Linked DNA regions of Homo sapiens: region 2 is linked to region 1. The links are contacts of gene promoters, found by promoter capture Hi-C in blood cells and fetal thymus (Javierre and others, 2016). All regions are on one chromosome and are shown on one strand. Each heading gives the region's core, a stretch centred on a gene start or on the middle of the fragment in contact. The rest is flanking DNA. Distances are from core to core; before and after follow the strand shown.

What was found. The method cuts DNA at HindIII sites, captures the fragments that hold promoters and counts their contacts. A CHiCAGO score of 5 or more calls a contact.
Region 2: a contact is called between the fragment with the promoter of KICS2 here and the fragment with the promoter of TWF1 in region 1, in 1 of 17 cell types (total B cells). The highest score is 7.2, in total B cells.

What each region holds. Positions count from the first base shown.
Region 1 is chr12:43,804,653-43,808,626 of GRCh38, reverse strand. TWF1 (twinfilin actin binding protein 1) reads left to right here and starts at 2,310. Exons shown (of 9, transcript NM_002822.5): 1 at 2,310-2,406. The coding sequence starts at 2,382. It also overlaps a transcript of TMEM117 not described here. RefSeq lists a silencer at 2,135-2,614. The HindIII fragment of the contact is 5,668 bases long and covers 1-3,465 here.
Region 2 is chr12:64,220,425-64,224,867 of GRCh38, reverse strand. It overlaps KICS2 (KICSTOR subunit 2), which reads left to right and starts at 2,572. Exons shown (of 3, transcript NM_152440.5): 1 at 2,572-2,865. The coding sequence starts at 2,631. It overlaps LOC124902952 (a long non-coding RNA gene), which reads right to left and starts at 2,519. Exons shown (of 2, transcript XR_007063347.1): 1 at 2,325-2,519. RefSeq lists enhancers at 2,119-2,178, 2,259-2,448, 2,599-2,688, 2,170-2,764, 2,799-2,858 and 1 more. The HindIII fragment of the contact is 7,597 bases long and covers 1-4,443 here.

The DNA.
Region 1 (3,974 bases), core at 1,061-3,560:
CTCATTGCCACAGTCTCCATTTATTAGCTTCATTCATTTATGTTATTTAACTGACCCCATAAGCATTTGTGTTTTGTGACCACCATCTTAGGTTCTAAACATTACCTCTACCAAACTGTAAAAAGTAGGAATTCTACACCTGTTTCCCACACCCAAGATCCATCTCCCCTCCTGTGATAATTGCCTTTCACTCATGGGCAGTGTATATTGGGTAAACCAGCCACCTTGGCCAAGAATGATTTGACACAAGCCAAGCAGGGTCATTCACGTGCTTTCTCTTAGGAACTTTAAACTTGGACTTAGAAGAGCTATGTAATCTCTGCATGCAGCTACAACCCTGTCAATTTGGAAAGTGTAGGGTAGCCATATTCAGCCATTTTGACTGCACAAGCAGAGAGATCTTATTTGGAGAAAAAGAAGAGAAAAGCAGAGGTGACAACCAAGTTGTCAAGATCTATAAGATCCTCCAATATCCTTATAATAAACCCTCTTATCTGCATACATTGTTTTCAAATGGTTTGTTTCTTACAGACACTTGTCTTAGCCTTGAAACCTGCTGACTTCCCAACTCTGTGGTTCAATTTCCAAACCTCTTAAAGTTAAAAAACAAAACCTGCTATTTTTTTCAGCTCGTCACACAGGATGTTGGTACTCAAAATAAGTCTATTATATATTATTTGTAAACTGTAAACTACCATACAAATCTAAGGTATTATTCTCATGACAGCTCTGGCAAATGTTCACTAAATGGAGACACAATAGATGAAGAAAAGTGGGAAAATATTTGTGGCTAGAGCAGAGCAAGGTACCCAAGACGCTTGCAGCTTTTAAGTCAAACTATTGTACTGGCAGTAAATAAGCACTTTCTGGTGGCTGTCAGGGTGGTCCCAACCTAACTAGACATTCCTCTTCTTCAGGACTGAGAATACAGTGGCCTTTCCCAAGCACGAATATGGAAGGATTATATTTTGCTCAACTATACTTTTGAGCAACGCCAACTTCCTTAAGCAATTTCCCCGAAGCACTAGGACATGAATCAGTCAAAATACTGCAAGTCAACTCTGCAATTTTCTCTCTGCTCAGCAATGTAGTCAAAAACTGGTAAATCAGGGTGAACCATTGTGTCAGGAAGAATTTGATTAGAATGAAACTCCTCCCTACATTTCTTAAATCCATACAAGTCATAAAACTCAGATTTAGTTTATTCCTGAATATGAGAATATGTCTGAAAAACAGAGCTCAGATAACAGGCAATAGAACATAACCTTGTTTGCTGTGATTCTTGTAAAGAAAAACAATTGCAGGCCTGTTCATCACTCATGAAAAATACATCGTATAGTACTGGAACAGTGATTAACTTGCACTTATATTATTGACCTGAATAAATTATTTCTTCATTAGCAGATTATAATTTTGTGTATGTGTCACTTCAAGGCCCTAAAAATAAGAACTAGCTTCCCACCTAGTAGCAGTAGAGAAGCAGTACCAAAAAAAAACCAAACCCCCCACAAAACTAACATTACCTTTCAGGAAGGAACTACATGTTTGTAAAAGCAGGAAAGGAAAAGATTTTTAAGTAATATCTGCTGCTACCTTACAAATCTGTCCAAGTGAATTTTGAATAATTACTGGATTAAATAATAAACTGCCAACCTAAAGCAGAGCAGGATTTGCAATGGTATAATCGACCACAGAGGGATACTCAAATCAGCTAATCTCTTAGTGGCTGTCTCTTTCCGGAGTGAAGAGAAAGATACACTGAGTCTCTAAATGTGTCCAGCTGAAAAGAAAAGTTAACAGTCTGAGATTAACTTAATTTAAAATCGTGGAAAAATTTGATGAGAGGCAGTCTATATTAATTCTTTCAAAACAATGGAGCAAGGAGAAGGCTTTTCTACACTAAACGGTATCGATTATAGGAAGAGTAAACCAAGAAAAATAATGTGCACATCTTTTTTAAGCTGGAAAATGCCTATTTGGTAAAATGATCACTTCCGTTTTTGAGCACCCCTTTGCTGAGGCAGCGAATGGCGGCGTCGGCGGGGTTGTCAGAGAGCAGACGTCGGAGCACTGAGCAGTCTAGATTCTGCGGCATGTCCCCCCCGGAAGAAGCGGGAGAGGCGGCGGCAAGAGCAGAAGCAGGACCCCAAGCAGAGAACTAGGATAGCGAGGCCGGGGGCTGGACCGCAGCCCGGCGGCCAGGAAGGGCGGCGGGGCGGCGGGGACGCTCGGGCACTCAGTCAACCTCACGGGGCGGGGCGGCCGCGGGTCGCGGGCGGATGACGCGCCGGGGCCGGCGGAGGAGCAGCCACTTCCTGGGGCCGCCGGCCGGGGCCGCTGGCTGCACTCAGCGCCGGAGCCGGGAGCTAGCGGCCGCCGCCATGTCCCACCAGACCGGCATCCAAGGTAACAGCGCCCGGCGCGACTCGCAGGGAAGGGGCTTCCGGGAGAGCCGGGAGAGCCGGGAGGGCTGCAGGACCGGCAGGGCTGGAGTCGGGCCGGGAGCTCCGGAAGTCGGTCTCGCGGGGCGAGCCGGGCCTCGGCGCCTCTCCGCGCTCCTGCTTCCCGGGCGCTGCCGGCCTGCGTCCTCCTCCAGCCCGGTCCCTGCTGCCGTCACGTTGCAGATTGATCCGAAATTCGGGGGAGCGAAGGAAATTGGCTTTCGAGGCGGCCTGGTTGAAGGGGGCGTGCCTTCCACCGTCCCCGACAGTCGCCCAACTTTCCCCCTTTTGGTCACGTAGGGAAGAGCTGGGACAGTGGAGGCGACTGGGGCTTCAGTACGCTGTCGAGAACCAGGCGAGTTTTCTTTTTCATGGTCCAAAGGAGAATATTACAGGACTTTGATTACAAAAAGAACCATGCCAGAATCTTTCTCACATCAGTAGGGGTGCTTCCCAAAACTCTCCCGCATTTTCTCTCCAAATAGGAAAATGAGAGTTATGTTCTGAGAAATCTCGAGTGTAAGCGTGTGTTTTGATCTTTTTCCTAGATACTCCCCAAGGGAAACTGATCTGTATGGTTGCATGTAATGCGTGCAGACAGTTCAATATGCAGTTATATCTGACCTCCATTATTTCCTGGTTTGAAATTGGGCAGCCTGCAGGTACTCACCTCATCAAGAGTCAAATAATATATCCCCGGGTTACTCGCGATCACTTAACGAGTTCTAGTGTAAACTCAAGCTCTTACTGTTAATAGCGAGTCTTTCTCCCAGATGAACACTTAATTGTATGTTTTATTCGTAAAGATTTTTGACACCACCGCACACATCCCCCTGCACGCACGCAGAAGCAAAATAGTCTCAAATCTGAAAACTTTGTTTTATTTATCCGCATTAATTTCGATATATAAATATGTAGTTATTGACTCTCATGCTTGAGCCTTATAGCAAGCACTACCTACTTACATAGTGGTTCTTGCTGCTAATAGACAACACAGGAACGAAATTAGAACGAAATTGAAGCTTTAATAGGAACACAAGGGTTAGTTATTAAATACATATTTATTCAATGAGTTTAATCTAGCTTTTGAGAAATGCAAGTTAGAAAAATATAACCAGAGTTAAGACTGAATGCATTTTATTGTCTTTTTCTTTAAACAAGTTAGGATATTTGATATATACTGTTGTTTTTAACGGGAAAATACAGAAAGTGAATTGATGAAGGAGTGTCTGTCATAAGCTTGAAACTGAATTAGAGAATGAAAGCAGGTTTTCAATATTTTTCAAAAGAGCAAGAAAAGTTTTTCAAAATTGTAATTTGCTCATTATTGGGTTTGAGTAACTTCAGTATATTCACCCCAGTGTTATTTCTGCACAGAATTATGTAGCTAAAACAGATTAGAATTATTAACATACTTTTAAAATGCTAATATTTATATTTCTTAATTGTATACAGTCTTCGTTATTTTATGCGGTAAAGTTTTATAATACTGATAATAAGGATGCTACATGCTCCAGATTTTTTCTTTGTATT
Region 2 (4,443 bases), core at 1,323-3,822, about 20 Mb before region 1:
ACATTAGGTATTTTATACAGTCAAATCAATCTCATCCTTTTTAAGTTCTTCCAATTCTTTTATATTTAGAAGGTCCTTCTCTATCTTTAGATCAATTAGTCACTTGTATTTTTTCTGGTTTCTGGTTTTGTGTTTTACACTTTTTTTTTCTTCAGGAAACAAGGTGACAGTCTATTTTCCCATGGTTAAGCATATTTCCTTCACTACTAATTGAGTATGTTTCTTCCCCACTAATTTATAATGTCACCTTCATTACCTAAGGAATTCTTATATTATGTGGGTATGTTTATGAGTTTTATAATCTCTTTTATTGTCTATTGGTTTTGGTGATAGTACCACACTTTTTTTTGATTACCTCTATTTATTCATCAAGAATCATCACACTCTCCTCCAGGAAGCCTCCTTAATTCTTCCAAAATGGTATGATTGCTCCCTTCACTCTCTGTCTTTCACCTTTGTCATGTTTAAAAATCTGCCTTGGCCAGGCGCGGTGGCTCACGCCTGCAATCCCAGTACTTTGGGAGGCTGAGGCGGGAGGATCACCTGAGGTCGGGAGTTCCAGACCTGCCTGACCAACATGCAGAAACCCCGTCTCTGCTAAAAATACAAAATTAGCAGGGCGTGGTGGCACATGCCTGTAATCCTAGCTACTCTGGAGGCTGGCCTTAGGCAGGAAAATCACTTGAATCCGGCAGGTGGAGGTTGCAGTGAGCTGAGATGGCTCCACTGCACTCCAGCCTGGGCAACAAGACCAAAACTCTGTCTCAAAAAAAAAAAAAAAAAAAAAATCTTCCTTGAAGCTGGGCGCAGTGGCTCATGCCTGTAATCCCAGCACTTTGGGAGTCCGAGGCGGGCAGACCATTTGAAGTCAGGATTTTAAGACCAGCCTGGCCAACATGGTGTAAACCCCAATTCTGTTAAAAATACGAAAATTAGCCAGGTGTGGTGGCACTGGCCTGTAATCCCAGCTACTCCAGAGGCTGAGGCAGGAGAATCACTAAAGCCTGGAAAGCGGAGGTTGCGGTGAGCCGAGGTCATGCCACTGCACTCCAGCCTGGGGAAAACTCCAGCCTGGGGGAAAGAGTGAGACCCTGTCCAAAAACAAAACAAAATAAAACAACCAAAAAAAAAAAAAACTGCCTTGTATCATTGTTAACAGGGTTGATCTTATCCAATTACATTCTTGAGTATAGGGAACAGGTGCACAATACCTATTCATTAAAATTAGATTAGTGGGATTTCCTTTAAAAGGTAGTGATGATGGCAGAACAGCTCTAGTTTGAGAAAAAACGAAAATAGGCAATTCTCTCATTTGTTCAACAAACATGGCTGCGCCGTCCAATATGAAAAGATTATAACTGTAAGTGAACCCTACTGTACCCTAGGGATCTCACCACTTGGGGAAAGAGATATGTAAATATATGCGATTAAATAGTGTGACTAAGAAGCATAAAATAAGTATGCACAAAGAAGAAAGGAAAAAACTATTGAGTAGTGGGTAGTGTTTCAAAGTAGTGGACATACAAGTATGAGCCGGGTTCATGGGGTTTCTTAAATGCCAAAGGAACTTGTAATTATTCTAAATGACAACGTGCACAATTTACATTAATGTATTCTTCATTCTGGCCAGGGGTGGTGGCTCACACCTGTAATCCCAAAACTTTGGGAGGCTGAGGTGGGAAGATTGCTTGAGCCAGGAGTTTGAGACCAGCCTGGCTAACATGGTGAAACCCTGTTTCTATTAAAAATACGAAAATTAGCCAGGTGTGGTGGCGCTGGCCTGTAATCCCAGCTACTAGGGAGGTTGAGGCAGGAAAATCGTTTGAACTCGGGAGGTGGAGGCTGCAGTGGGCCGAGATCTCACCACTGCACTCCAGTCTGGGCGACAGAGCGAGACTCCGTCTCAAAAAAAAAGAAAAAAAAAAGATAACTTTTTAAGGAAGGTTAATGCAGTTTGGGCCAGGGGCTCTACTTATTAGTTGCAGGGCTAACACAGACCCGGGAGAACTAGAACGGGATACAGGTGAGAGTTAACCGGTGGTGTGTGATGTGATGAAAACTAGGCAATGGGAAGGAGATCAACCTTTACCCGTCAGTCTTCTAATCTCAGCAAATCACTTCCATGAGTTGGTGTAGAAGGTGTCAGGGCTGACTAGGGTCCCTGCTGTGAGTGTGGGCACAACTCCAGGCACTTCCCCATCTCCCAGCCGGCCCAGCGAGGTGCCTGGAGAGCCCAGGCCAGATGTTCTGGCCAGGGCTGACGTCACGTTTGCATGACGTCACCAGCGCTGACGAACCACACAGAGAGGGGCCTGTCAGCTCACCTCAGAGCGCAGGCAACTTCTTAGAGCGGGGAACTGGCCGCCTCCTATTCTACCTTGACGGTCCGAATAGTCAGAGCTACAGGAGCCGAAGCGCCGAAGGAGCTCAGCAACCGCTACCTCCCTCTTTCCTTGGCCCTTATCCGCGTCTTCTCTAAGGCCCAGGAGCGGTCCCGGCAGCGGCGCGCTCACGAGTCCGCCGGTGGAGGCGGTCACGCGCACGCACGCTTGTGCGCAAGCCCGTTCCCTCAGAACCCGGAAGTGCGAGGCCGAGGAGAGCCACGTGGGTCGAGCTGGGGCGCAGCTCGCATGGGGGAGTCTATCCCGCTGGCCGCCCCGGTCCCGGTGGAACAGGCGGTGCTGGAGACGTTCTTCTCTCACCTGGGTATCTTCTCTTACGACAAGGCTAAGGACAATGTGGAGAAGGAACGAGAGGCCAACAAGAGCGCGGGGGGCAGCTGGCTGTCGCTGCTGGCGGCCTTGGCGCACCTGGCCGCGGCCGAGAAGGTCTATCACAGCCTCACCTACCTGGGGCAGAAACTAGGTACCTCCGCCCCGCCCCCCGAGCCCCTTGAGGAGGAAGTAAAGGGGGTATATTCCCCAGTCGGCAGTGGCTTGGGTTTCCCGTCTCTGTGTCACTTCTAGTCGCAGGCTCGACTCGGCATTCCCAGATCTCCTCCCACCGTTCCTTTCCTTCCCTGGGCTTCCACAAGCCCCGCCCACCGGCCTGCGCTGCTGATAGATTGGCGAACTGGGTAGATGCTCTTTGCAGGGCTGTGACCCAAACCGAAGGGTTTGCCCTTTTGCCTCGTGCATGGATTGATGCCATAAATGAGAAGTTAACCAAACTATGTCTTCATTGTTTTAATTAGTGACGCTGCAGCCAGAAGAGCAAAACTTTGCAAAACAACCTAGTTCTATTACTGAACACTGTTGTGTGGCCTCTTAAGGTTAAGGCCCGAGAGTCACATTTAGAGTCCTACCCCGTCTTCATAGTCCCCCAATACATATTTAATGACTAAAGTAATAAATGAATATTGGGCAGGAAAGGCAAGAAATATGCCTAACACTAGCAAGAAGAGACTTAAGGGGAAAATGGTAAACACTCTTAGCACTTCATGTACATCTTGCCTCTGAAATAAGATTCAAGAGCTGATTCAACTGATTTTTACTAGTAGAAGCAATAAGTATAAGTAGATGAGAAGGAAATAATAGATGTAAAAGGCATGGAATATGCATACAAAATAATATTACTGCTTAATTATGACAAATAAATATATTTGAATCCTAGGGGTTTCAGAGTCAGTACTTTGACCTGTTTTAGACTCTTCAATTTTCAGAAGCGTGAGGTCTGATGTGAATGAAGGACACGTATATAAAATACAGAGAATAGAAATGTAAAATTGGTGTAGATTTCATTTTGATCCACCCCCCCCCGTTCCCTAACCAGCCCCCTACTTTCCTTATATTGCCTGAAGGTGACCATGTACATCTTATTGAGCTTTCAGTAAACACTCAAGAGACAGGGCTTCCTGAGTTCGTAATTGCTGTAGCAAGTATGTTGATTTATACATACTTATTTAGTATGCTAATTTATTAGCAAAAACTGGTCAGATAGTTTCACCTTATTTTTTTCCTCCCCTTTTTACAATGGCATTTCTCACAAATTTGCAGTTGCTGCTATGGTGTTATTATTCCCCTTTCTATAGATTAGCAAATTATATATGCAGTTATGTTGGGTAGATGATAGAGTCGAAACCAAAATATCTGCCCTTGTACTCTCAGATTGAGTTTGCATTCATATAACTTATTAAAAATGTGTATGAAAATTATAATTTATGTATAATATATACAGATATATGTTTTTTATATATGTGAAAATGGGGTGGATTCTAGCTGTAATACTGAAGGTAGGTAATATTTAGGCAGTTTCAGTTGTTTTTAGACTCCCCCACCTCAAAGAATGGTGACTGATTCAAGTGCCATGATTCTTTGCTTTTTTTTTTTATTAACTTATCCATGGAAATTTGATGAAAGCTGTGTACTTACTCTCCAGAAAAATATATATGTACATATAATTTTGCGTATAACCTGAGTGGGTTCAGTTGAATTTTCTAAAGTC